Regions from separate parts of the Homo sapiens genome. Here all the other regions are linked to region 7. Evidence: promoter capture Hi-C in 16 types of primary human blood cells and fetal thymus (Javierre and others, 2016). All regions are on one chromosome and are shown on one strand. The core of a region is centred on a gene start or on the middle of the fragment in contact, and the rest is flanking DNA. Distances in the headings are between cores, read along the strand shown. Region 1 has its middle 37 kb from the start of ZC3H11B. Region 2 overlaps LOC105372926 (a long non-coding RNA gene). Region 3 has its middle 13 kb from the start of ZC3H11B. Region 4 has its middle 27 kb from the start of ZC3H11B. Region 5 has its middle 67 kb from the start of ZC3H11B. Region 6 holds the start of EPRS1 (glutamyl-prolyl-tRNA synthetase 1). Region 7 holds the start of TGFB2 (transforming growth factor beta 2).

Evidence for each region. The method cuts DNA at HindIII sites, captures the fragments that hold promoters and counts their contacts. A CHiCAGO score of 5 or more calls a contact.
Region 1: a contact is called between a fragment that was not itself captured here and the fragment with the promoter of TGFB2 in region 7, in 2 of 17 cell types (monocytes and M0 macrophages). The highest score is 10.1, in monocytes.
Region 2: a fragment that was not itself captured here is called in contact with the fragment with the promoter of TGFB2 in region 7 in 1 of 17 cell types (neutrophils); the score reaches 5.2 in neutrophils.
Region 3: a fragment that was not itself captured here is called in contact with the fragment with the promoter of TGFB2 in region 7 in 1 of 17 cell types (monocytes); the score reaches 6.9 in monocytes.
Region 4: a contact is called between a fragment that was not itself captured here and the fragment with the promoter of TGFB2 in region 7, in 3 of 17 cell types (monocytes, M0 macrophages and M1 macrophages). The highest score is 14.4, in monocytes.
Region 5: a contact is called between a fragment that was not itself captured here and the fragment with the promoter of TGFB2 in region 7, in 2 of 17 cell types (M2 macrophages and monocytes). The highest score is 5.9, in M2 macrophages.
Region 6: a contact is called between the fragment with the promoter of EPRS1 here and the fragment with the promoter of TGFB2 in region 7, in 6 of 17 cell types (naive CD8 T cells, total CD4 T cells, monocytes and 3 more). The highest score is 9.8, in naive CD8 T cells.

What each region holds. Positions count from the first base shown.
Region 1 is chr1:219,647,819-219,651,683 of GRCh38, reverse strand. No RefSeq gene overlaps it. Among named protein-coding and RNA genes, the nearest start is that of ZC3H11B, 37 kb to the right of the region's middle. The HindIII fragment of the contact is 6,356 bases long and covers 1-3,865 here.
Region 2 is chr1:219,708,216-219,712,197 of GRCh38, reverse strand. The region is part of intron 5 of LOC105372926 (a long non-coding RNA gene); the gene reads left to right. Among named protein-coding and RNA genes, the nearest start is that of ZC3H11B, 97 kb to the right of the region's middle. RefSeq lists an enhancer at 836-2,035. The HindIII fragment of the contact is 1,534 bases long and covers 1,539-3,072 here.
Region 3 is chr1:219,624,412-219,628,269 of GRCh38, reverse strand. No RefSeq gene overlaps it. Among named protein-coding and RNA genes, the nearest start is that of ZC3H11B, 13 kb to the right of the region's middle. The HindIII fragment of the contact is 7,610 bases long and covers 1-3,858 here.
Region 4 is chr1:219,584,340-219,588,240 of GRCh38, reverse strand. No RefSeq gene overlaps it. Among named protein-coding and RNA genes, the nearest start is that of ZC3H11B, 27 kb to the left of the region's middle. The HindIII fragment of the contact is 365 bases long and covers 2,228-2,592 here.
Region 5 is chr1:219,678,445-219,682,523 of GRCh38, reverse strand. No RefSeq gene overlaps it. Among named protein-coding and RNA genes, the nearest start is that of ZC3H11B, 67 kb to the right of the region's middle. The HindIII fragment of the contact is 1,591 bases long and covers 833-2,423 here.
Region 6 is chr1:220,044,202-220,048,219 of GRCh38, reverse strand. It overlaps EPRS1 (glutamyl-prolyl-tRNA synthetase 1), which reads left to right and starts at 1,715. Exons shown (of 32, transcript NM_004446.3): 1 at 1,715-1,877. The coding sequence starts at 1,832. RefSeq lists enhancers at 1,504-1,573, 1,634-1,963, 2,005-2,562. The HindIII fragment of the contact is 10,455 bases long and covers 1-4,018 here.
Region 7 is chr1:218,344,011-218,348,182 of GRCh38, reverse strand. TGFB2 (transforming growth factor beta 2) reads right to left here and starts at 2,847. Exons shown (of 7, transcript NM_003238.6): 1 at 1,136-2,847. The coding sequence starts at 1,481. TGFB2-AS1 (TGFB2 antisense RNA 1) reads left to right here and starts at 2,505. Exons shown (of 3, transcript NR_046268.1): 1 at 2,505-2,580; 2 at 2,795-3,008; 3 at 3,721-3,987. RefSeq lists enhancers at 798-1,298, 2,430-2,479 and a silencer at 2,860-2,919. The HindIII fragment of the contact is 5,586 bases long and covers 1-4,172 here.

The DNA.
Region 1 (3,865 bases), core at 956-3,455, 1.3 Mb before region 7:
GGAATCACAGTGGACACTGCAAAGGATACAAGAAGAAATGGGGAGGTATTCTTCTGATCTTACTGCTTTCTAACAGGGAGGCCAGAACACATGAAACAATTAGAAGCAAGAGAGTTACTCAAAGATTACTTGATTAAAATAGCTATATATGGAGAATTTTGGAGGCCACCTTTTTACCAAACTCTCTGTGCCTTTTAAAAATGTCACCTAATTTTTTTATCTCAATTCAGAAATCGATGCAACTATCAGGCGCCACTCACAATTTATTATATGTCTCTTTAGTCTCTGTTTGTGTCCCACCTTAAAGATTTATAATGTGTACAAGCAGCAATTTTCTGTATTCATTACTTAAATTTCATTTTTAAAACCCCTCCTCAATTTTACCTCTTTATGTTTTAATTTTGAGATTGCAACTTGACTTGCAAATTTTGCTTGCAAAATCGCACCACAGATAAAGAGTAAGAACACTTCTAAACCTCTAGTCTACTGGAGCTGAAGATGCTTTCTTCTCAGCCACCGTGAGAGTAGAAAGGGTTAATGAATTAGTCAGTTCTCTGCTCTTTGCTCAGTTTCCGGTGGTAACCTAAACCCAATGGAACCACACAGACCTGCACTCAGCTTTTCCATCGTTTATATTTCTGGTGCCTGAAACAATGTCCTTAAAATGAAAGGAGCATTCTTGGCAAAAACAGACACCTGCTGTTTGGGTGAACTTGAGAATCCTTTGGTTTGCCTTAACAAAATAAATATTTCAGGGAAGAGCAAGTTCCAGGTCTGAAGATGACCTAGGTTGGGCTGGCTCCATGGAGTACTAGCCAAGGCATTGAGGATAATGGAAATAGATGGTCTCTGTAGGAGGGAAGTAGGAAAGAAGTGAAAGGGAAGCTCTGGATGAGATTATTACTTAAAGTATGGTTTGGCTGGAGGAATAGGAGCTGTGCTCCCTAGATGGATGCAAGAATCGAATATGTGGGTAGCTGTGGTTCACTTCCCAGAGGATAGTCTAGACTGGAGTCACTGTTCAAGTGTTGCTTCCAGCAAATACTAATTACAGACCTTCAGAAAATTAGGAGGCTGTCCATATAGAAAGAATGTAGATGAAAATATTCAAATAAACATTAGTGTCAGAAAAGGGAAGAAGAGGTGATAAAAATTTTTTATGCCTGCTATATGCCCAATGCTATGCAAATGTTTTTTCATTTACTCCTTTCAACTAACATATGAGATCTCTAACTATTGCCATCTTACATAGGAAGGAACTGAGATTATGGGAGCTTATGTTACTAAAGGTGGCAGAATAAAAAAGTAGAAAAACCAAAATTTGAATCCCAGTCTGTCTGACTCTGAAGTCTAGATTTTTCTCTCCTACAGCATTTGGCCTTGCAAAGTCTGTCCTCCGTAGGATCATGCTCCTCCTGGCTTGTCATGATCTCTGCTATCATTTACTGAACACTGTATTGTACATTTTATATATATATGCTCACAAAAACCCTAAACATAAGTTTTATTATTCTTATTTTACAGATAAGCTGAGGGGTGGGTAGATTAAGTTGTACTGAAAGGCGTACAGTGGGTGGAACCAAGAATCGCACCCTGGTTTATCTCTCTCCAAAGTCCACGTTGGTTTCTGTTTTTAAAATAATTATCCTGAATACAATGAAGTGAAAAAATTATTCCAGATCCAATGAATTTGTTATGTTAAGTGACTTCTTACCGTAGTACTTTGGGACACCCTACCAATCATGAGTCACCATGTTAGGGTGGGCTGTTTATATGTTTGTCAAGAAGACAGCAAGAAAACAGACTGTATTTCAGTCTATCTATCTATCTATCATCTATCTATCTATCTATCTATCTATCTATCATCTATCTATCTATCTATCATCTATCTACCTATCTCTCTCTCCATCTAGTCTACCTATTATCTATCTATTAATATGATCTGTCTATCTATCTATCTATCTATCTAATCTATCATCATCCATCTATCCGTCTATTTATCTACCGTGTACCTATTTTGCCATGAAGTAGCAATATAGCAATTCTGTCCCTAAGTTGAAGGTATAGGTAACTTTTAAAAAGTCTTAATAAGCTCAAAAACAAAACAGCAACCTACCAAGAGATGGATTCAGGGGTAAAATGAAGGACAAAGCCAGAGGCAGAACAGACACAAAACTGTTCTTCTTTTCCAGGTGACTTCAATCCTCTCCCTCCCAGTTGTTAATGTGCTACTGAGAATCAGGGCTTCAGCTCTTTCAACACCAGATCCTACAGTCTTGCAATAGGATTTAATTCAATACTTATGTTCCCTTGAGAAACAATTATTGGGAGCTTACTATATTCTGGCACTGTGCTAGGCACTGTAGACACACAGCTTTGCAAGACACATTCTCTGTCTTCAAGGAGCTCACAGTCTACAGGGGGACATAGATATATAAACTTAAATTGTGAAGGATGCATTCTTGAGAAGCTCTCATAATTCAAAACACCAGAATTCAAGAAACTACCGTATATAGCCAGTGAAATATATTACTGGCACCTTCTCCTCTTGCCTTTGGTATCCAGTCAAATGGAAGCACATCTATGGAGTCCTATAGGTCAAGAAAGAGTCATGATCCACGTTACCAAGTTGTTCCTGTGGATGAGAAGATATTCTGAAACTAAAGTTCAGTCAAACATAAATGCTATCCTTCCAGTACAATCCATACTTTAGTGTAATCAAAATGTTGATGAGGAGAAATTTCTCTTGATAGATATATTCCAGCTAAGAAATGCAGCATGAATTATAGAATTATGCATTGATCTTACTTGGATTTTGCTTCAAATGAATATACTATAAAAGCAAATAAGCAAAAACAAAACAATAGCTTGCAACTAAAAACAACTCAAATGGCCACCCAATGGGTGAGCAGTTCAACAAATTGTGGTATATCCTTATAATGGAAATGATATTCATCAATAAGAAGGAATGAACTATTGATTCACATATGGAATGAAGGAATCTCAAAATAATTATGCTGTATGAAAAAAGCCAGTCCCTTCTCCTCCTCCAAAAAAGTATATATTGTATTATTTTATTTATGTAAAATTTTAGGAAATGCAAACTGATCTATATTAATAGAAAGCAGGTGAGTGGTTGCTGGGAGATGAGTGGGGCAGTTCAGAAAGTGTAGAGGGAGAATTACAAAGGGATCTATGCAAACATTTGGGAGTGATGCATGTATTTATTATCTTGATTGTGGTGATGGTTTCATGAATATATGTATTTGTCAAGAACTAACAAATGTGTACTATAAAAACCTGTTGCTAGTTATATTTCAATTATATCTCAAAAGTTTATTTTTTTAAAAAGTGTAACAAAATCCTTTCCTATTATGCATGCATATTTGACCTTCAGTTAACTTTCTAGCTGTGTTCCTCTAGCAGTTGCATAGGGTAGAATGATACCTATGTTGCCAGGCAACACTGGTTACGGCAAAAATGATCCCTAATTAGAAAACTGTATTTGGACTTGGCGGAATTAAAAATACACTATAAATACCTGACAGGGACATGAAATAAAAAACAAAATTCAAGACAATTTTCCCCATAAAATTGGCCAAAGATGGCAGTTCTTTCTATTTACCAGTCTAAGTGGCACTGTCACTTGTTAATGTTAGAAATATGAAGGATGATGATTTTGAAATTAAATAACTCTTGATGAATTAAAAAATTGATAATGTACATTATTTCAAATTGGATGAATAAGTAAAATTTTATTATGTTGGATTACATTTCAAAGTTGCATATTTCAAAGTACCATCAAATGTGATTACCACATAAAGCAATATGATGAATGCAATGACAAAGGTAAGCTCAGGATGCT
Region 2 (3,982 bases), core at 1,056-3,555, 1.4 Mb before region 7:
CGTGTTGTCTATGGGCTCACGTGCAGTTTTCTTTATTTTACTTCCTGCCGATATCCCCTGCCCATTGGCTACTAGTGGGAAATATGTGGTGGCCACTGTTACAGGGGCTCTAGGGAGAGAGCTGCTTCCAGGCCTGGAAACTGCCCTGGTGGAGCCCATAAGTACCCACTGTTGTTCCTCCTGGGTCATCTCCAGTGCCCAAAGCAACACTGTGTTTTCCTGTAAATATATCCTCACTCCCCAGCTGGATGGATTTGGTCCCTTGGGTCCTGGAGTAATCCTGATTGATCCTGAGAGATAAATTCCACTGGAAACAGTGTTTTTGGCTTCTGTCTGCAGCCTCCTTGAGGATAGGGCTGACCTGTCCTCCAGGCCTGGGCTGGGATAAACAAACACACTAAGCTGTCCTCTCCAGGGGCCATTTCTCCTGCCTTCCTCCAAGATACCACAATTAAACTTCCTGCCTCCTTTCTGGACCTCTTTTTGTTTATTTACATCCACTCCTAAAGGCCACACTTCTTAATCAGATTGTACTGGGGATTCAGTTTCCACATGAATTTTGGTGGGGACACCATGATTCAAACCATAGCAAGGTGCTTAGGTTTAAAGTGTTCTCAACACACCCAGACTTTCTTGAGATCGCACAATTATTGTTCAGCTGTGTTACTCTAAAGAAAGTTTGAGGCTGGGCACGGTGGCTCACGCCTGTAATCCCAGCACTTTGGGAGGCCGAGGCGGACAGATCACGAGGTCAGCAGATCGAGACCATCTTGGCTAACACAGTGAAACCCCGTCTCTACTAAAAATACAAAAAATTAGCCGGGCTTGGTGGCGGGCGCCTGTAGTCCCAGCTACTCGGAAGGCTGAGGCAGGAGAATGGCGTGAACCCAGGAGGCGGAGCTTGCAGTGAGCCGAGATCGCGCCACAGCACTCCAGCCTGGGCTACAAAGTGAGACTCCGTCTCAAAAAAAAAAAAAAAGAAAGAAAGTTTGAAACACAGAAGTTGTATTTTACAGGTGAAAAAGTATTTTCTGCTGCAGTAAAGATCACTATCTCTGGAAAGTTTTGACCGCAGTGTTTTGAGTCATTAGTTCTGTTGCCTGGGCAACTTAGCAAATGTACCAACTCCATAGTATGTGGGTGGCCATTTACTTTTGTTTCCTGCTTCTGAAAAGGTCTTTGAGGATGTGGATCAGGATGCTAGAGTAAGTATTTTAAAGTAGAGAAGTTCTTTCATGTGGTAACTCCAGAAGTTTGTAGGATGACTAGGATCCCCTCTCACTGGTCCCATCTGTGTTAAAGGAATTGAGAATTGCCTCCTTTGGATCTGAGTACATTGGATGACTCAGACTGAAGATCAAGAATTTGCCTTACAAGTATTTCTTTTATGATGATATAAATGTTACTCCTGATCCCCGGCTATTGGGAATGAAAGTGGATGAGGTGCTGGTGATTGTGCATTTCGGAGTCACATGACTATGACGGAAACTTTTTCTATCTGTGACAGAGGATGGCACAGTGCATTTCCTTAGGAAGCTTCCTTTCATTTCCCTAAGAAAGTTGGGGGGAAAAGTAGGGTGGGAAGGATTTCTACTTTATTAGTTTGGCTCGATCAGAGAAGCAGAGCCACAGTGAATGATCTGAAATAAGGGGAGTATGATACGGATCCTCCATAACTGTGGGATCTGATAAAGAATTCTATGGGATGCTGTGGTCTCTGCACCTGGTGTGGGCTTGAAGTTGCTGTGGATGGATAGGATGGGCTGTCAGGAAGGAAAGCCAGATGTTAAGTGGGAAAGAGCAAAACCCACCTGGAACCCATGAGGTTAAATTAAACCCCTCCAGGACAAACTGGCTTGGACTTGAGGAAGCTGAAGGGAGCTGTCTGGTGGGAATGAGAGTAGCTACAAGCCTGGAGGGTCCCGTGTCAACAAAATGAGCCCACAGATCAGTCACAACATCCAGGAGCTGCAACCATGCCTCATGCCCTTGACATACCTTCAGTGTGCAATGGCTGCTACTTCGTTCTGCTTTCCAAAACTTATGAACATTTCTCTTGTTGTCAATCCTAGCCTCGCCCCATGCAGGGAAGGAAATTCTGAGAGATGTAGTCCAGCTTATCTAAGAGGGCACAGGACAAAGCCACCAACCACATCTTCATAGGAGCCCTTTTTCCCCTAGTCCTTTAGATGAAGCCCCAGAGCTGGGTTACTCTCCCATGTTTCCCAGTGAATTCTTCTGTGCCCCTACTGAAAGAAAGAAGAGCATCATCTTCTATTTCAGTTGATGTTTAGCACTAGAATGTATAGATCAATGATATTTTGTGGCTCTTCTCACTATTCCAACAACCCTGAGAGGTAAGCATTGTATCATCTACACTTTACAGTGAAGAGTACTGGAGTGTTTATTCACCAGGGAAGCTAAGTTTGGGAAAAAAGCAAGATCAATAACTATCACAAAAAAGCGTAGTTTGGCTTTTAGGTCAGTAGCGATAAGTTGATAGTCACGTGTAAAGTCTGAAGGAAATTACTGCAATTGGGCAGTGTTGCTTGGAGCCACCCTTTCTTGGATAGAGGTGCTTGAATGAGCTTCCTTGGAACTGGCTATCAGCTATGATGTTCACTGGCTTCTCAGTGAGCACATGAGTGCTTTCCGGGTGAGGATGGACTTCTGGCCATACTCATTTTGTTGTCAAGTTCATCTGAGAAATCGAAAAATTGTTCTGGCAGCCTCAGCTTTCCTTTTTGTCTTTTCACCACTTCAAGAGCATTCCTAGTGTTTTAAAATATGAGGTTATGCTCATTTCAATCATAACTTGAAACAAAAACGTTGACATTTTTCAATGCATTTATAAAATCTTCACCTTCTGGAATCTCTCTCTTCTTGCTGATGAGAACCATCTGATTCTGGAAGCATCAGTTGACAGAAAATTTTCTGGCAGCAAAAAGCTCAATAGTCTATTGGGCACTTAGAAGTCGATTTCACAGAGTAGCCATTTTTTTTTTTCTTTTTGGGATGTTTATCACTTGAAATGCCAGCACTTTGCTTAGTCATAGTAGTAGTTTGAAAGCTTACCTCTAGGAAAAAAGGCTTGGGGGAACAGAAAGAAACCGCTTTAGTTTTAGAAAAATGTCTACAAATATAAAAATGATGACCAAGGGAAATTAACCCAACAACCATCCAGGATACTTGGAATAAAGATTCTTGGATCTTTCTCTTCCTTTTTTTTAGCTCTTTATCAGTTCGGCTGGGCACCATCACTGTATTCTGAGAATTCGTAGGTGAGTAATCTATGTTTTCTGTTCCAAAGGGATTTTCAGTCTCATAGAAAAAGGCAGGAATGTAAACAAATTAAGTATTCAGAGTATTACTAAAAAGTTTTCCAGGCAGTTTTGGGGTCACGAAAGTGAAGAAAAAATTTTATAGAGAAAGCCACTCTCCAGCAAGACTCAAATGTTGAACTAATATTTCCTAAGCCAAAGTTCCCCAATCTCGGTGACAAGCTACATGGATTAGAGGTGTGTTAAATTATTGAATTCCTCAGCTTTGGGCTCTTGGAGCTCCTCTTTATATTCTGGCCTGCTGTATAAGTATTATTTTAAAATGCATGCCATGACATAAAAAAATTGGTGATCACTGCTAAGCGAAAACATGGGGTGGGGAAAGAACAAAGGGAAGGCTCAGAGCAAAGAAACTGAGGTGTGAGCTATTTCCATATTTGTAGGCACATAAAGGGTTTGGAACAGGGGAGGGACATGCTCAGATTTGTATTTAGAAAGTTCGCTCTTCTCAAAGTATGTATGTTGGATTGGAATATAAATGTACCTCAAAGATATTGCAGGTTTCTATTTTAGACAACCACAGTCAAACAAATATTGCAAAAAAGTGATTCACACACATTTAAAAGTGAATATAAAAGTTATGTTTATGCTACATTTTAGTCTATTAAATGTGCAATAGCATTATGTCTGAAAATATACAC
Region 3 (3,858 bases), core at 822-3,321, 1.3 Mb before region 7:
CAGTTACTTTATGGAGTATAAAACTGGAGCCAGCCAGGCAAGGAATTGTCTTGACCAAGTTCCAATGAGAAGGCAAAACTAGAAACCACGTCCTTGTCCCTCTGGTCCAGTGCTTCTTAGGTTAGTTTTGCCAACAAAAGCCCTATTAACCGTGCTTATGCTATCGAATAAGTAGTTGACAGGTTAATTAAGTCACTTAAAGAAGAGGATCATTAAAAATGGTAGCATATATTTTAATATTTCATTTTATTGTAAAAACATATAACTGAGCACAGAATAACTTAAAAATGTATGATCAAGGCTAATTTATGTTTTCTGAGTATGAGTTCAGGGATTAGAGCTCATGTTGTCTTCTTTACATAGCTTATGATTTCCAATTGGATTTCTTTAAAGTGGACTAAGAACAGAAAAATACTCATGAAGCAATCTGTGTCTAGAAATCTTCTAATTTTATTAACAGTTACCTTTCTTTACAGTTATTTCACCAATACCTACATGGGAGAATATTTTTAAGCAACTCATATATATCAGCGATTTTCAAGGTATATAAGTTAGCTTTTCTAGGAATTTTTTTTTACTGTTTCATCCATTTATATAATATTTTACTAAACTGTAAAAACAAATTCAGCTGGTATAAAAACGTTCACTTTTAGAAGCAAGTCACTACAAACTAAAAGTGATCAGCTGCTTGCGGGTATCGGTCAATATACTTTACAGAGGACAAAGAGAAGTCTGGGAAGTCACTTAGATGAAAAATTAAGCAAGACAGGTATTCAAATTTCCAAACTTGGTCCCATCTCCTCCATGAAGCCTTTCCCAGCTACTCTACTCTGCAGATGTCCCTGTCGTCTTTGATTTCTTCAGTACTTTTTCATCCTGTCACAGTGTCGTTTAACAAAAGCTGTTTCACTCTTATCTCTTTAATATGCGTATGTCTTATTTTTACCCCAAATGTTTTAGCAACTTGAGGCTGACAATATGACTTATAATTTTTATGTTTCTGGCCAGCACTTAGCCTAGAGCTGTGGAAATAAGAGTTACTAAAAATGTACTTGAGGTCAGTTGAATTTGATGCTACATCTCTTTTGAGGTCAGCCAAGAGCACATGTGACTCTTTTCCTCATGGTCAGAAGAATCAGGTATGTGCTCTATGAAGGGCTCTTCTATTTATGGCCCTGTGATGGGCACATTAGACAATAGCCTAGATAGACCACTACCATACTGAGGTGGAAGCTGGCAACGCATCTACAAGGGCCACTCAAGGGTGTGTTATACATCCTCACTCTCATAGAGAAAGATCTGAATGTAACACATGAGCTTTGAGCCTCGGAAAAGGAATTCCCTGATAGGGAAGGTTGCTAAGTACTAGAATGTACTACCAAGGCAAATTCCAAGAATACTTTTCTTACAGGCCTTTATAACAGGATATATTCATCTCTGTCTTGGGTTATTGGGCCACAAGGTCCCACTTCTGCATTTTAGTCACAGACCTTCTTTATTTACACCATTCAAGACGTGGGGGCAACTCTTCTCTTATGGAAGCTCTTTAGCAGGACAGGCTCTATAACCTCCTAGAAGAGATCATTTTACTGCTTTATCACTCAAACCTTGAAAATACCTTTTTTTGCTCAATGGTAAACTCTCTGGATATAACTTAAACACAGTTTTTTTTGTTGTTGTTGTTGTTGATTCTCTGTGGATGTGGAACATAATTATTTACTGCCTTTAGAAAAGAAATCTTCAGTGACTGAAGAGCTGTGTACAAATCACTGTTTCTCTTCTGTAGGTGAAACACCTCCAGTTCCTTTAAACTTTTCTTGCAAAAACTCTTTCCCATTATTTAATCACATTGATTGCTCTTCTTCTTCCAAAAGAGGATGTGGTAGGCAGCGGATTAATTCATGCTGGAGCTTGAGGAGTCTCTATCGATATGTGGGTTGTGGATTGGACATCCAGCAATCTGACTCTGTGGACAGCGCACATTCTTGGAACACACAGAATGTGCAGAAAGCAAGACAAAGGAGAGACGGAGCAGAATATTACCCGTTTGAGATGTCTTGTAAAAGGCTCTATTTAAAATACTTTAAAAGACATTCTGTAGGCTTAACTACAGTGTTTTTAAAAATAGATCAAATGGTTTAAATATGATACTGTTCCTCCACTTTGCAAAAACTTAGACTTTCCTCTGGAGTATAAAATGTTTCCAACACCAAGCATGGTATCATAAAAATGCAGTTTATAAAAAGCATGCTGACACTGTAGAAATTAATAGTTTTCTTGGAAGTGGAATCTTTTCAATTCTCACAGTGGTAAACTGAAGTGAAAATGGACTTTTTTTTTCCTTCTATCTTGTAAAGTTAATTAACTTTCTTGTCTTAGTTTTCCCATATGAAACATTTTGGATGGCACACATGCACACAGTGAGTGCTCACCACCAGGCACCCTCCTAGCTTGTCATTCAAATGCTCAGCCTTATGTCCTGGAACTCCTTGGGTCACAACTGTTAATGGTTATGTTGGACAAGAAAGGGGCCAAATACTCAACCTTTAGAATAGTTACTTAGATGAGTTTATCCTACTTTCCCATTTTCTTAAATGTCATAAGAAACCATGACCGTTATTTTCTCCCATCATTGAATTCATTTCCCATTTCTTGCTGCTCATTCCAGTGGTTAAAAATCCTGAAAGGAGAGAAGAAATTGCTTGTGGATGTTTTTTAAAAGACTTGAGCAACATGTCTATGCAAAAGAGACTTGATTACAAATTGATGAGATGCTTCAAGTTTAGGCATGAATTTCTTTATATGTTTTAGTCTTATAGAAAATAACTTCTGTGTAGTCAGGCAGACCTTTTAGAAGAGTCTGAGAAAACAAAACAAAACTATCAAAAAGTTGATGTGAAAGCCAGAACCATCTTTGACATTGAAAATTTTATATTGGGGCATTCCAAACCAGTTGTTAGTATTTGTACATTTCTAGACTGGTGGAGGTGCTCTGAAGGAGAAGGTTGGAATAGCCCGTGGTGGAGAAGAACACAGAATCTCATATCTAGAAAAGATTTTGGGAACCATCTAGTTCAGTGGTGTCGATATAAATCTGACTATAAAATGTATTGGCAGTTGTTCACTAGCCTTCTAATTTATTTGAAGAGTGGTCTTATGCCCTTAAAGTCTTCTCATTTTCAGGCTTAATCATCCCAATTCCTATAACATTAAGCCATTTAGATTCATTCCCATCTAGATTTTCCTGCACTGGAAACACTTTAGTTTGCTGAAGTTCCTCTTAAACTGTGACCTCCTAAAAAATTGCACTCTTTCCTGTGTGTTTATATATCTACATACAGATATTTTATACCTAAGAAAAACACTTTTATTTTTCATTAAAACTCAGTATGTTATTAGAACCAGCCATCTCTATCATTTAAAAGATTATCCTGTCCTTTTATTTTAATATCTCACACTTTATCTCATACTTTATAAGCATCTGAGCTGCCTGTAATCCCTCATCCAAGTCATTGATAACCATGTTGAGTAGAATAGAGCCTGATATAAATAAAATATCAAATATTCTTCATTGTGGAAATAAATGTGGAAAGGGAGAGAATAAAATCAGGAGAGGAAGAAAGAAGGAGCAAGATTACCATGGAAAAGTGAAGGACAGGGGGACAGTGTACGATGACCAGGAACCCTACCTGCTGGGTGAGGTCAGCTCTGGTAACCCCTGTGGGAAACCGACTCGCCCATCTGAGCAAACACTGTCCTTTCTTTGTGGGGTTAGGGAACCTAATTACCACAATGAAAATCTACTGAAATTTATGGCCTTGAAAATTTGAAGAGAATCTGAACTTTTCATGATTGAGT
Region 4 (3,901 bases), core at 1,161-3,660, 1.2 Mb before region 7:
TTCTACTTCCTGAAATTGCCAGCCTTGTACAAGAAGCTTGATGATTGAGTCATTATTTCCCTTTCTGGACCCAGACATGCAATACTAAGAAAAATAATTACTAGCAAGAAGAAGCAATCATCTTTGAAATATTTTGCTCATTCTGTTGCTCTCCCAGGAAAACAGATGGTGGGGGCTTCTGGAGGTGGGTGGTTGCAACACTGAGATACAGAAGCTATTCTGTAGAAGCAGCAGTTGAATGTGTGTTGGCTAAGTAGTCTCCGAAAGATATTTGGGGAAATGTGATCTACTTTCAAACTGAGATATGTGGAAGAGGGATAGTGACTTTTGGTTCCTCCATATGTGTGGATTCTCAAGGAAGCAGATTTCGACACAATCTAATGAAGAAATCTTTTCTTCTGAGGCTGCAAACTGGTAGCTCATGAGCTAAAGCCTGCTAACAGATGTGGCTTGTTGGTCTCACAGAGTGTTTAAAACAAATTTTGAATTAGTTACTAACATTTAAAAGGCAAGAAATTGAACATTTTTTATTTCTGACTTTATTTATTTATTTATTTATTTTGAAAAACTGGAAGATCCAGTGAAACTGAGCTCAGACTTCCTCCAGCCTGCAGGCTGTTTCCTTTGGACAGCACATGTGCTTTCCAGCTCACCACATTCCCTCCAACTTTCTTTGGAGGACCTGCATCAGCCTCCTTCACTCATTTATGTTACTTTCTGGCTCTTCTAGCTTTTCTGAGTTTGTAGCTCTTACTAAATACTGAAGCACCTTATGTAGTTAGTGATGAGCTTTTCAAGTGTTTAGACAGGCTGGAAGAACATTTGCTGGACAAAGAGTGGACAGTATATCCTTGGACTCCAGAAACTCGGCCCCTTCTGAACTCCAATCTTTAGAGGACCCTTCTTGGACTTTCCTCCAGCTGTGCCCCACCCTTGGGAAGAGTAGGCCATGGGGTCAAAGGGACAAGTCCTTTCAGAATCTATTCACTTTTGACATTCACTGCTCACTCCAGACACTTATCTTTCAGATTCTCCCCATGTTTGTCTTGCTGAAGATGGACTGTGCTGCTGGTGTATACGTACCCCTAAGTGTGATGAGTGGGCAAGAGGAGACAGTTAGGTAGGCAAGATATATTTGGTGCTTAGATATGTGGGTTGTTGAGTCCATAGACATGCATGGGAGACCCTTTGTGATACAGGACAGAATTCAGGGCAGGAAAAGAAGGTGGGCTGGGGGCCTCTGTTAGAACCCTGGGAAGGGCCTTTAACTCCTTTCCAGGGCTTATCCTGAGCTCATATTTTTAAATACTATGTCTCTAATATTCTCTTATTTCCAGTAATGGCACAAATCCTGTGCTTTGCAAAACATTAAGTAGAGGGTGGGTGGACTCAAGAGAAACAGGTACACGCCACTCTAAAATATGATAGACTATAAAGAAAGGCCAAAACAACACATAGATAACCATATGTCAAAAGAGTGCTTGGGGAGAACACTGGATTTCAGCAAAGAAGTGATAAAGACCCTCTGATGCACAAAGACTCAGGATGATAGCACAGAGAGGGAAGAAAAGCACCCAGCTAGAATTGGCTAGGAGTCAGGAGGGGCTCCCCATTGCAAGGAAAATATAAGCAGGATATCTCCAGCAGTTCACATTCCCACCATGGACTCCTGCAATCCTAGCCACAGGAGAGCCCCACAGCCCTTGCGGGACCTGAGCTCAGTATAGGGAGCTGCTTGGAGTTCACATGATTGCAGTGTTCCAGAGAGGGAATTCATTCTGGGTTCTCCTCCCTGCCCCCTGGGCAGCACCATTCTGTCACCATTTTGAGAATGGAGTAACCACCAGAGTGCATCCTGCCCTAAGGCCCAATAGCTCCTGCATCTCCATATCTCTTGTGCGCCACTGACGTGCTGTCACATCCATCTAGAGGGCTGTGATGTCACAACATAGGCTGAACCCAGCTGTGCAGCCATGACCTTGTTTACTTGAGTGCACACAACACATTATTTCCTGAAGCACAGGCAGTTCAGCTTAGCAAGAATGCTGCCCCAGGACAGAGGGAGCCAACAGGCATGCTCCCCAGGGCCTGTGGACTACAGCTGCCACCACTAGTGACCTCATTTGCTCTAGCAGCAGAGCTAGCACCCTCCTAGGAGCCAAAGAATTGGCCTTCCCAGGCCCACTGACGCTGCTGTCAGTGACGTTTTTTCATCCAGAACAAAGCTTCTGCATGTCTGCACATGCCCCTAAGTGGCCTGAAGACAGCCTTGCCCAGGATCTGCTGCTGTTGCTGGTGACCCCTCCCCTCCAGTGGTGAAGCAGCCATGCATGGGCATGCTCTGAGGGGCCCAAGGACTGGCCCACCCAGTGCTCTGATTCCCAGCAAAGTCTCACCCCCAACCTCCACAATCAACCACACCCTAGGCCGTTGAGGCAGTCACAGACACCACTGACATTGATTATAGCTGAAGAAACCATAAGGAGGCCATACTACTGAATCAATCAAGAACCAAAGCCAAAGCATCCCACCCAACCAACACTATAGGACATGCCAACAGAAATAGCTTTCATATCTTTTGCTATGAAAGCTTCTCCATAAAATTGGAAGAAGCTACTGATCCACCAGATATACAGATATTGACATATAGACACAAGAAATATGAAAAAACAAGGAAACACAACACCTTCAAAGGAACATATGAATTCTCCAGTGACAGATCCCAAAGCAAAGGAAATCTATGAAATGCCAGAAAAGGAATTTAAAATAATGTTCTTAAGGAAACTGAATAAGATACAAGAGAACAGAGATAGTCAATTTAATGAAATCAGAAAAACAATTCATGATTTGAATGAGAAATTCCACAAAGAGGTAAATATCATTAAAAAACAACCAAACAGAACTCTTGTAACTAAATAATTCAATGAGTAAAATAAAAATACAATTAAGAGCTTCAACAACAGACTAGATCAAGCAGAAGAAACAGTGTCTGAACCTGAAGACATGTCTTTTAAGATAGCCCAGTCAGATGGAAAAAAAAAAAGAAGTAGGGGGAGAGGGGAAAGAAAAAGAATGAAGAAAGCCTATGGTACATATAGAACACTGTTAACAACACTAAGCAAATGAATATTCACGTTATGGGAATTTCAGAAGGAGAAGAGATAAGAAAAGGCACAGGAAACATATTTGAAACTGATAAATTTAGCAAAATCGCAGGATGCAAAATCAGTACAAAAAATCAGTAGTATTTCTATACACCAATACAAACTAGTTGAAAAATAAGGAAAGCAACTCCAATTACAATAGCTACAAAAATACCTAGAAATAAATTTAACCAAAAAGGTGAACGATATCTACTATGAAAACTAGAAAACATTGATGAAAAAAATTGAAGAGGATACAAACAAATGAAAAGACATCCCATGTTCATGAATTGTTAAAATGACCATACGACTCAAAGAGATGTATATATTCAATGCAATCCCTATCAAAATACCAATTACGTTCTTCACAGAAATAGAAAAAGCAATTGTAAAATTTGTATGGAGCTACAAAACACCCTGAGTAGCCAAAGCAATCCTGAGCAAAAAGAACAAAACCGAAGGCATTACACTACTAACTTCAGAATATACTATAAAGCTATAGTAATCAAGACCGCAAGATATTGGTATAAAAACAGACACATAGACCAACGGAACAGAATAGAGACATCAGAAATAAATCCATGTATTTATAGCCAACCAAGTTTTGACAAAGGTGCCACAAACACATACTGGGGGAAAGGACAACCTCTGCAGTAAATGGTGCTGAGAAAATTGGATATCCATATGCAGAAAAATAAAACTAGATGCCTATCTCCCACCATATATAAAAATCAACTCAAAATGGATTAAATATTTAA
Region 5 (4,079 bases), core at 379-2,878, 1.3 Mb before region 7:
TTGTAATGGAAGGGAGTTGGTTTATATTTCTAAATTCAATTTCAATTATAGGCCAAGTGTAGATTAATCAAGTGTCATACCTCTGTATGAATTTATACAAGGTTTATTATATAATATATACATACATAATATATATACTGTATACATACACACATGTATAGGTTTGTATTCAGAAACATGTTCATATATTTTTAAGCCAAATTTTCCCATAGTTTAAGGATTTGCAGAGAGGACGTTCTTGGTTCCGGGGAATCCAATTTTTGTGATTTCCCATTTATTGATCTTGTTTTACTAGATGTTTACTTCCAGTGTTGGCTGTTTTCTGTTGTTCTGAAGTACTGGAATTAATCTCTTGTTAAGTTATTTTAATAACCGTTGGACAACCCAAGTTAGAGAGCTGCCCTTGGTAACCATAATTGCCTCTTTGTTCTCAACTTCAGTGTGTCCAGAGAGAAATGGTGTCATTGTATACCCTATCTAGGATGTTATCAAGTAGGAGTCCCTGAGATAGGATATGTTGGCTAAATATTTTCTCTACAAACTCTGCAAGGCCCATAATTAGAAATAAGAGCCCACACTTCTTTCTAACTAGTGTTTATTTAACCTTACAATAAGGAGCACATACAATTTTTTTCTTTGTTTCAAAGAAAACATTTTATCATTTAGATCAATATAGCCTCATATAAAATTACTCTTTTTGTTTCTTTTCAATGGCAGTGATTCTCTTGATGCTAGTCAATCTCCTTTTGTGTCTTCTACATGGAGCAATATGGAACTTGATCTATTACAAATTTCAAGATGATAGATGTCATAAAATATTCTTCTCTAAGCTTCCCAGTTTTTGGGTAGTTTTTCAATAATTTGAGGCATGGATTTATCCCTTACCAATCATGTGTGGAACATGCTCGTAAGCTCTGATAAGGGCATATAAGGAAGAAAAAGAAAAGACCTTGCTGTTGGAAGGTCTTAGACTAAAGAAGAATATGCGAGAGATAAAAGCTCCTTCTCATACACACTTGTTAGGGACTGAATATTTCTGTCTTCCCAGCATTCAGATGTTGAAATCCTAATGCCCAAAGTAATGGTATTGAGAGGTGAGATCTTTGGGAGTAAGTGAGGTGATGGGGGTATAGCCCACATGAATGGGAGTAGTGCTTGTATAAAAAAATACCCCAAAGAGGTCTGTTGCTGTCTTTCCACCATGTGAAGATACAAGAAGTTGACTGTCTGCAACCTGGAAGAGGGCCTTGCCAGTACTGAACATGCTGGAACACAGATCTCACACCTCCAGTCTCTGGAACTGTGAGAAATAAATGTCTGTTGCTTAGGAAGCCACCCATTCTATGGTGCTTTGTCATACAGCGTGAACTGACTAAGACACCATTCCCCACTAAACCTTCCTGCAAGAACAGATACAATCAAAACTTACTAACATAAATTTAAGTCATCAACATCTGGTCTATCCAAAATAGTCATGAACCTTTCAGCACCATATTAATTCTCTAAGTTAGGGCTATTGGGACCAACTGAACTAAGGGCTCTGATGCAGATGCGAAGGGGAAGGGATTGAATGAATTCAAATGATTGAGTTTGAATGGAATGATTGAGTTTGGATGCATTTTCTGTCCCTGACTTCCAAAATCAAATAGAAATTATTTTTGTATTATTTGCTGGTTTTATTTGAATCTGTCTGTTCTTATATTATTTTATTTCTTAAGAGTAATTTTTTATTAGAAGGTGAATATTGTGATATGCAAAAATTATATAAAAAGCAGAGGTCAAATTGTAGGCACCTTATTTTACAGATGAGGAAACCAAATTTGAAAGGATCAACTAATCCAAAGAGCCAGCACACAAACAGAGGTGTTCTTATCTCCAATCTGTTGTTCTATTTCCCTCAGAATGGACAGTGTAGATTTGAACACGTAGTGGCATGTACTCATTGAAATCTATACTTTCAAAAAATAGGCACATTAGTTTATGTCATCATGTTAGTTTGTTTTCTTGAGAATAGATAAGGTGTTGTTTTTAAAACAATTTTAGGTAGATGAAAAATTTTGGTGAATTATACAAATGAGACTTACTAAGACAAAGATTGCTTCATTTTCTTTCTATTGACATTTCTTTGGCTTCTTTTGGGAGGCTTAATTATTTTTTATCAAGTCATTAATTGATAATTATTTCACCTAAAAAAACTCCTTGGAGTGCTATTATATATCAAGCACTGTGTTAGGTACACAGAATGTAGAAATAAATAGAATTAAGTTCCTAATGCAAAGATCTGTGTGGTCCAGAGAGGAGAACATGACCAGCTTTGGTGGCTGAGTATTCTGGAAGGCTTCATGGAGATAATGTTAATTTGCTTAATCTCAATTTAGAAGGATGAGTATGATTATTTTAGGTAAGTGAGGGGCAGAAAAGCTTTTAGGGTAGAAGAAACTGCTGGTAAAAAGGCAAAGAGGAATGGAATTTGTATGTCATGTTTGGGTAATGACAAGTAGTTCGGTGGTTCTGGAGCATGGGGTATAAGGAACTATTTAAGGAGATAAAGTGGTATGGATTGTGAAGGGCCTGGTTCACCAAGGGTATTAGTTTCCTAGGGTTCCCATAGCAAGTTACCAATATCTGAACAGCTTTAAACAATAGAAATTTATTATCTCACAATTATGAAGGCCAGAAATCAAAAATCAAGGTGTTGGTAGGGCTATGCTCCTTCCAAAGGCTCTAGGGAAGAATTCTTCCTAATCTCTTCCCACCTTCTGGTGGTTGCTGGCAACTCATGGTGTTCCTGGGCTTGTAGCTGCATCACTCCAGTGGCTGCCCCTGTCTTCAAACGGCCTTCTTCCCTCTTTGTGTCTGTCTGTGTGTCCAGATTTCTCTCTTATAAGGACAACAGTCATTGGATTTAGGGCCCACCCTAATTCAATATTATCTCATCTAAAACTTGATTGTATCCAAAGAGACACTATTTTCAAATAAGGTCACATTCACAGGTTCTAGGTGGACATGATTTTTTACCCCTTTTTTGTACATATTGTTGAAAACCATTTTAAAGAGCAGTTTTAAGTTCACAGCAAAATTGAGAGGAAGATTCAGAGAGTTCCAAATACCCACTACCTCAACACATGTACAGCTTCCTCCATTATCAGCACCCCCTACCAGAGTGGTACATTTGTTACAGTTGCTAAACATATGGTGATATACCATTATCACCTAAAGTCCATAGTTTACATTAGGGGTCACTCTTGATGTTGTGAAAATTCCTTGGGTTTGGACAAATGTATAAGGACATTTACCCACCATTATAGCATCACACAGAGGAGGTTTGCTACCCCAACAATCCTCTTGGTTCTGCCTATGCATCCCTCCCTCTCTCTTAACCCCCTTGGACTGTCTAGTTGCAGGAAAATAAGCTCCGGGTTCCCACTGTTTCTACATTATAATGAGTTGTATAATTATTTCATTGTATATTACAAGGTAATAATAATAGAAATAAAATGCACAATAAACATAATGCACTTGAATCATCTTGCAACCATCCCCCACCCCACTGCCCTGGTCTGTGTAAAAATTGTCTTCCACAAAACTGGTCCCTGGTGCCAAAAATGTTAGGAACTGCTGATTTAGGAGATCATCCTAGTATCGGAGGCAACAAATTATATAGGTTCATCAAAAGTTGGACCTGACCCCTTCCTTCTATTTCCCATATACTTATTCATTGTAATCCCTATTGTCTTCTCCTGACTTTTCAGTTTTGGTTAATTTTGATTGAAACCAATTGTAAATGCTCTTGATATCAGGTTTCAGATGTCATTGAAAAAAAATATTTAAGGAAAAAAGAATTTTTTCTAAAATCTTGCAAAGAGATTTTTTTTTTTTTCTAGTTAGCTGTTGTGCTGTATTTAGTCCCAAAACTTCCCACAGGTAACACCTACTGGTTACAAGCTTTCTTCAACAAGGTGGTATAAATTTGAGCATGCCTTTACTGTTTTTTTCCCCCTTTGGTATAAATGCCTAAGTTATGGGGATGCCATTTTCAAGTGAAGCTGGTAAACTGATGCTGATACAAGGAAAAGTCG
Region 6 (4,018 bases), core at 466-2,965, 1.7 Mb before region 7:
TTTCTCCATGTTGGCTTGGCTGGTCTCAAACTCTCGACCTTAGGTGATCCGCCCGCCTCAGCTTCCCAAAGTGCTGGGATTACAGGCATGAGCCACCGCGCCTGGCCTCAAGTCTCATGGGAGATGTAATCTAAGGGGCCCTCCCTAATGAAAACAAGGATGTCTTGGGGAGGTTAAGAAAAAGTGTAGGCGAGGATGTGGTTGAGATGGTTCTTGGAATCCATCCCGGGTCCCCGTACTTTAACACCAGCCCTTGAAATATGGGTGCAGCTCACACACACGAATGTGTGTATACACCTTGGAGTATCTCTGGAGCTCATGCATGCACGTCCGTCACAAAGGATTTGAAAGGGAGAATCAGATGAGACGCTGAAAAAAACACCTGTGGACTCCATGATTGGGGGCGGCATCGGAGGGTTTTTTTGTTTTGTTTTTTAGATCAGGTCTCTCCCTGTGTCGGCCAGGCTGGAGGGTAGTGGCTACTCACAGGCAAGTCCACGGCGAGGCCACTACAGCCTCATCTTCCTGGGCTCAGGCGATCCTGCCTCAGCCTTCTTAATAGCTGAGACTACAGGAGCGCGCCACTGCGCCTATCTGCAGTGATTTTTTGTTTGTTTTGAAACGGGGTCTCAGTCTGTCGCCCAGGCTGGAGTGCAGTGCCGCGATCTCGGCTCACCGCAACCTCCTCCTCCCGGGTTCAAGCGATTCTCCTGCCTCAGCTCCCCAAGTAGCTAGGATTAAAGGTGCGCGCTACCATTCCCGGCTAATTTTTGTACTTTTAGTAGAGACCCCCGTCTCTACAGTTTCACCATGTTGGTGAAGCTGGTCTCCAACTCCTGACCTCGAGATCCGCTCGCCTCCGGCCTCCCAAAGTGCTGGGATTACAGGCCTGAGCCACCGCGCCCGGCCTCTGCTGTGATTTTTTTTTTTTTTCTTTTCGAGAAGGAGTCTCACTCTGTCGCCCAGGCTGGATGCAGTAGCACGATCTCGGCTCACTGCAACCTCCACCTCCCAGGTTCAAGCGATTCTCCTGCCTCAGCCTCCCAAGTAGCTGGGATTACAGGGGCCCACCACCATGCCAGGCTAATTTTTGTATTTTTAGTAGAGATGGGGTTTCACCATGCTGGCCAGACTGGTCTCGAACTCCTGACCTCAGGTGATCCGCCCGCCTACACCTTCTAAAGTGCTGAGATTACAGGCGTGAGCCACCACGCCCGGCCTGCAGTGATTTTTAAAGAGTCTTTTATATTTCCTTTAACCATTATTTTCAACACGCAAATAACTCTTGAAAATACGTTCTTGTTTTGGAAAAAAAAAAACGGGGGGGAATGTATAAAATAAACAACGAGAAAAACTTCTCCCATTCCCAACGTAATCATGGCTATCGTGTGTATGCTTCCAGGACTTTTCTTTTTACATAAAGACAGTGCATGCTTTTGTTTCGTGCTTCACATAAACGCCTATCCCATCTTAAAGATGGTTTTACAACCTGCTGTTTTACGACCTGCTGACTTGACGAAGTGTCGTAAAGTCCCGTCCACTTCAGCGTCTTTCCCACCGCAGCACGAAAGGCCACGCAGGCCGTTCTAACCCTGGCGGCCAAGAGGAGGGGTAGCAGGCTCTGGAACCTGCGGGCGGGGACGAAGACGGCGCGCGACGATGTCGCACCGCGGCGTGCGCGGTGTCGGCAGTAGCTGCGGCGCAGGGGCGGAGCGAAGGCTGCGGCGGCGTCGGGTACGCGCACACGTTGCATCTTCTTCCTTTCGCGGGGTCCTCCGTAGTTCTGGCACGAGCCAGGCGTACTGACAGGTGGACCAGCGGACTGGTGGAGATGGCGACGCTCTCTCTGACCGTGAATTCAGGAGACCCTCCGCTAGGTAAGGGGCCGAGACCAATGACCTGTGTGGGTTGCATCAGCCAGGGAGGGTGCAGGGCGTGGAAGGTCGCTGCGCCCCGGCTTTGCGCAGTGGTGGTCACCATCTGGGATGTTGGACCTGCCCCTCGCCCCAGAATTGTACGTGGAGGAGGCTCCGCACCCCTCGCCCCGTGTCCCCGGCAGGTGCATCTGCTCCTGAAGATGGTTTTCCCGGGCATGGAGGGAGGCGCAGTGTGAGCCCGGGCTAGACAACACGAGACTCCGCTTCGGATCTTTTTCTCAGAGGGATGAACTCCCAGTCAACTCACCTCTCCCTTTTTCCCCCGGAGAGCGAGAGTTGCTCGTGGAAATAAGATTTTAAAACTTAAAATCCAATAGTCGTCGCTTCTCTTTTAGCATTTTTCCCCCAACTCCTTTTCTTACCTCCTTTCCTGTCCTGTCCCTCCTCTCAGGAGAAATCCTCAGTTCACTTGAGTCAAATTTTCCTTACGTTTTATCGAGTTCAGAAGAAATAACCCAGACGAGCATATTAGCATTTAGGATTTCAACTGAGGCTGCATTTATTTTTAATTAAATGTGGTAGGGTAATTGGGGAAAACACCCAGGTACACTGTAGACTGATGCGGTTGCTTTTACTGCACCCTGTGGATGTGTAGTAAATTTCAGAGTAAACATTGGATCTGTCACCTTACTGACACATCTTAAGTTCTGTTTGGAATTATTTTTTCGACATGACCAAGATTATTGTTGGTAGATTGCTTAGAATTTCTGCTTTTTCATTACTTTGGGAAATTACACAGAAGAATTTAAGTAGTTTGCCGATTTTTTTTTTTCTTTTGAGAGTCAGGGTCTTGCTCTATCGTCCAGGCTGGAGTGCAGTGGCGCTTTCAAGGCTCACTGCAGCATCGAACTTCCGGGCTCAGATGATCCTCCCACCTCAGCCTCCTTAGTAGCTGGGACTACAGGCGCGTGCCACCATGCCTGGCTAATTTTGTGTTTGTGTCTTTTTTGGAAAGATGGCGTTTCACTGTGTTGCCCAGGCAGGTCTCAAACTCCTGGGCTCAAGCCATCCTGACTTGGCCTCCCAAAGTACTAGGATTACAGGCGTGAGCCACAGTACCCAGCCTGACCTAATATTTGTTAATGCATATGTATGATAATACACACACAGTACTTTCTAATGTTGAAGAAGCCCATACCTTTATATACAGTTGACCACGTGGGGCTGATGAAATTATTCATTATATTCTCAACTTTGGTGATGTTTTAAGGTTGTTGAACAAAAACACAACTTAATAGCCATTTTAAACATTTAAAAGATGGTAATGTTTTGGCATATTGGTTGCAGTAATGGACTAACCGCACAACAAATCAATGAACTCTAAAAGGAATGGGTTTGATTCCTGAGCTGGAAAGGCATTAGAGTGCCTTCATGATTGAGAGCAAAGACATTTGGTTTCTGCAGACCTGAGTCCAATCCTGGCTGCCACTTACTAGTTGTGAAACCTTGACAAGTTCCTTATTTAGCTTCTCCCATAGTTTCCTTGTTTTAAGAAAGGGAGAATAATGTCTTCCAGATAGGATTGGTTGCCAGAGTTAAGTGAGACTATAGTTAAAGCTCCTGATACTGTTTTTTTTTTTTTTTTTTTTTTTTTTTTTTTTGGAGACCGAGCTCATTGCAACCTCTGCCTCCCAGGATCAAGCAATTCTTGTTCTCAGCCACACGAGTAGTTGCGCTTAGAGGTGCGCACCACCATGCCCGCCTAATTTTTGTATTTTTTAGTAGACACAGCATTTTGCCATGTTGGCCAGGCTGGTCTCAAACTCCTGACCTCAAGCAGTCCGCCCGCCTTGGCCTCCCAAAGTGCCAGGACCACAGGTGTGAGCCACCATGCCCAGCCTCCTGATACATTTTTTGTTACTTAGAAAATCACCCTGAAGGTGGCCTGTTTCTGTAGTGTATTACAGAACTCAGAATTCTGCCAGTATTCTGTGAAACTCTTGTCATTTTGAACTGTATGCCAGTTATCAAATATATCATTTTTCTAATTGCTCCTCTCCCTTTTTAATTTTTGATTTAATTATTCCCAGTTTAATTCAATTACATTTTATCTTTAAGTAATATAATTAGATGAAACATTT
Region 7 (4,172 bases), core at 1,598-4,097:
TTCCCCCCACCCCGCCCCCACTTTTCTTTTTCTTCTTCCTGGTATTTAACCCTCTCAGGTATCAAGTGGATGCTGCTGCCCCTTTTCTTTCTTTCTTTCTTTTTTTTCTTTTTTTAAGAACTCTGAAATCATTCTACACTGTCTGTTCCCTTCCTCTGCAATAAATCATTTCACTCCTATTGCTACTGTATGCCAGCTGGTTTTGAGGACACTGTTCTCAGAGAAGCCAGTAAAAAAAAAAAAAAAAAATACGGCTGTCGTCTACTCTGAGTTTTAGGAATGCATTGAAGTAACTGCAGGAAGCCTACGAAAAGGCAGGAGCAGGATAACAGACCCGTAAGAAAAATGATCTGCTACACTGGAGATGTGAAGAAGGCAGGTTTGAGTGTATTCTGAAAAATAACGTGAACAAAACCTTTTAAAACACAGTCAGAAACGGAGTTGTCCTTTCTACACTCCAGGTTAAGTGAAAAGGGAACGTGGTTATAGGATTTTGCCTTTGGGTAATGAAACACCTAGTGATAGCAAATGATACATCAAGGACTGAGGGCCAGGTAGGTTTCTCGAGGGGTCTCCAAACCGGGTTTTGTCTCGGCGATGCTGACATTTTTAGGGTAGTTAGAGACAATAGAGAAGGCTTGGGGAACCAGCTGATAGGTCAGCACGGAAAGGGGGCGCCTTCCGGAGAGGCTAGTTTTGAGACACTTTTTTTAACCCTTCGTGCACCAGTTCGGCGCGCTCCACGCCAATCGGAGCAAAGAAAACAAACCTACCAAGATTCCTCAGTTTAACTCTGCCCCTGGGAGCACCTCTAGTTTGACAGAGTGGGGCTGACTCCTAGCTGGTGGCCGACTAAAGAACTTCAGGGAAGAGAAAAAGAGAATAACGCCTTTTAAAGCACCGAATTGTTAGGGGGAAGGGAAAGATGGAGAAAATAAAGTAGAAAGTAAACATTTTAAAGCCTGATGGCCTCAAGCATACAACTGAAAAGGAGGTGGTGGGGTGAAGGACAGGAGAACGGGAAAAGAGCGAACGGGAACCGCGAGAGGGAAGGGCGATCCCGGGAGCTGCTGCGGTTTTGAGAGCTCCGGGCAGAGCTAAACCTCAGGGGATGGAAGTCAAAATAAGTACTTACTTTCGGAGGGGAAGAAGGGCGGCATGTCTATTTTGTAAACCTCCTTGGCGTAGTACTCTTCGTCGCTCCTCTCGCGCTCGCAGGCGGCCGCCCTCCGGCTCGCCTTCTCCTGGAGCAAGTCCCTGGTGCTGTTGTAGATGGAAATCACCTCCGGGGGGACTTCCTCGGGCTCAGGATAGTCTTCTGGGGGACTGGTGAGCTTCAGCTTGCTCAGGATCTGCCCGCGGATCGCCTCGATCCTCTTGCGCATGAACTGGTCCATATCGAGTGTGCTGCAGGTAGACAGGCTGAGCGCGACCGTGACCAGATGCAGGATCAGAAAAGCGCTCAGCACACAGTAGTGCATTTTTTAAAAAAGTGGAAAAAAAAGTTGTTTTTAAAAGTCAGAATAAAAAAAAGAAATCAACAATTCTCAAAGTATAGATCAAGGAGAGTTGTTTGGTTTTTTGTTGTTGTTGTTTTTGATGCGAAACTTTTGCAAACAATCTAGTCAATGCCCAACAGAAAAACGTATCCTGCTTGAATTCCTTTAAAAAGAAAAGGCCAGTAGTTCCAAAAGTGGAAATATTAATACGGGACGGGCAGAGGGAACCCTGACTTTGGCGAGTAAGAAGAAAAAAATTCTTGGAGCAATGAGATGGGGAAAAAAAGAGACGAGTGGCTATTAAGTAGAAATAAATTTAAGAGGAGGAAGTGGAGTTCAGTGTGTCAGTCTCGGGTGCGGAGTGGCGGATCTGAACTCGGCTCCTCCGGCCAAAAGGGAAGAGATGAAAAGGTCCCGGGGCTGGCAGCTGGCGAACTGACGGGAGGGGCGCCGGGAGCGCGGTGAGGGGGGCCGCCGAGGCTGACCTGGGCTGAAATTTATATATTTAAAGAAGGAGCGGTTCGGTCCTGCCTTCCACTGCGGCGCTGAGAGCAGGAGCAGCAGCAGCTCCGGAGCAGAGAAGCGCACACGTGTGTGCGTGCGTGTGTGTGTGTGTGTGTGTGTGTGCGTGTGCGCGCGCTGGGGGCGAGCCCAGCGCACCGCGGGGAGGAGGGTGCGCTTCGCAGGGCGCTCGGTACTCGGTCGGGTGCCGCAGGGGCCGCAGAGGCTGCTGAGGCGGCGCGGATCCTGCTCTGGGAGCTGCGCTCCGTGGCCTACACCCTGGCGGGCGCGCGCTGACCCGCTTGGTTACTCCACGTTGCTGCCGCCGCCGCTTGCAAACGCTTCCAGCCTCCAGCTCCCTCCTTCTCCTGCTCCTCCTTCTCTTGCTCCAAACGCCAACCCAGCCACAGACGATCAGCCGTCGCGGTTGCGTTCACCCCCTGCGGATCACAACGGCAGCCCTTGCGACACCCTGGCTGGGGAGTTTTATTCCTGAGGGGGTTGCGCAGGGGCTCCCTTGGACTCCCACCCTTTCCCAACCTCTGCTGGCTTCTCCCCAACGTGGAATTGCTCGCTTAGGGTAGGTAGGCACTTGCCACCCTAAAATAGATCCTCTCTGTCTCCTCCTGTCTGCAGCCGGGCAGCCCCTCAGTTTGTTCCTGGATGACTCCCTAGACCGTCAGGCTAATATTCTCCATCCCCCTCCCCTGCCTCTTTCACTTGCGCTCTCGCTCTGCTGTCTCTTTCTCTCTTTCTCTTTCTATCTCTATCTCAATCTGTCTTTCTCTTGTCAGGAGCTTCTGGAGCTCCGCTCGGAGCGAACCTTCTGCTGCCAGCAGATAACATCACGATCTTGCCGGGGAGGGGAGATTTATAAGTTCTCTCTGAACCACGTGTCTGCCTTCAACAAAGTGACGTGCTAGGATTACAGTCAGAAGTCCTCTCGTTACTTAGACCACGAGCTCTCCCCGAACCGTTGAGGGAGTGTGGAAATGAGGACCGCTGTGGGTAAGGGAGGAAGGAGGTGGAATGTGCGCCCTGACAACAGTGATTTACGGTATTTACTTTCCAGTCATTTTGGACAGGTCTGTTGAAGGAAGGACAATCAAGTCTCCCGTTTTTACTTAGTGTAGCTCAGTCACAGCCTCCCAAGCTGAATCACTTGCTCTAGAAGGGAAGGCTTCCCTCCTGTATTATGTGTGCACACGCACCCCTATGGGAGGGAGCACTAGTCTACTCAGGGCCAGGCCAGTACTGAAGACATACCTTCCAATCTTTTAAATTCATGTCCTACCTCTTATTTTCTGGGATACCTTAGCAGGTTGCCATCCCAGAATTTATTTTGTTAGTTTGTTGTTTACAATGTACCCCTCTGTTTGTGAACTGCTGGAAAACAGAGATCCATCAATTTTACCTAAAGAATAAGGTATACTTGTTTGTTTTACTGATTTGAATGAATGGTCACCTTTATAATTTGCTGCCTAAGCCACTTCTTGTATGGCTTTCTTCTTCACCTTCTTGCTAGGCTAAACATTATCAACCAACTTCATTCTTTCCATAGCATTAATCCAGGAAGCTGGAATTTTAAGTGTTTGATGTCTACTGTTCTACACTACTCATAACTTGACATTTTCAATTTCAACTAAGTCTAAATTAGATGAATACAAGAATAACTCTTACCACTGTTCCACCTTCCCTTTTTCTTTTATTTTACCTTTAGTTACTCAAAGTCAACATTTTCATTTCGGCATGACTCTGCAGCCATACTGACCAGACAGATGATTTAAACTGGAAACTCTGTTGAATGTACTCCCAAACCCAAGATCTCTATACTGTTCTCTACTTCAGATGTTCCTGAGTTCAGAAAAGTCACAAAGAACTTTCTATCACTTTTGGAATTTATACTTCAGTTGTGTATGGGGCCTAGGTTATTAGTAGAGCACTGAATAAATAAAATAATAATAGCTAACATATACTACACTTAGTAATTTGATGTGTGTTGTGTATGGTCATTTAATCTTCACTATGAACCTATAAAGTGGGTCTTATTATCCATATCTGGCAGATGAGGAGACTGAGGTACAAAGAAGTTAAGTACTTTGTTCGAGACCACAGTAAGTGGTAGAGCTGGATTTTTGCAGTCAGGATCCACTATGTTCTTACCTACTATGT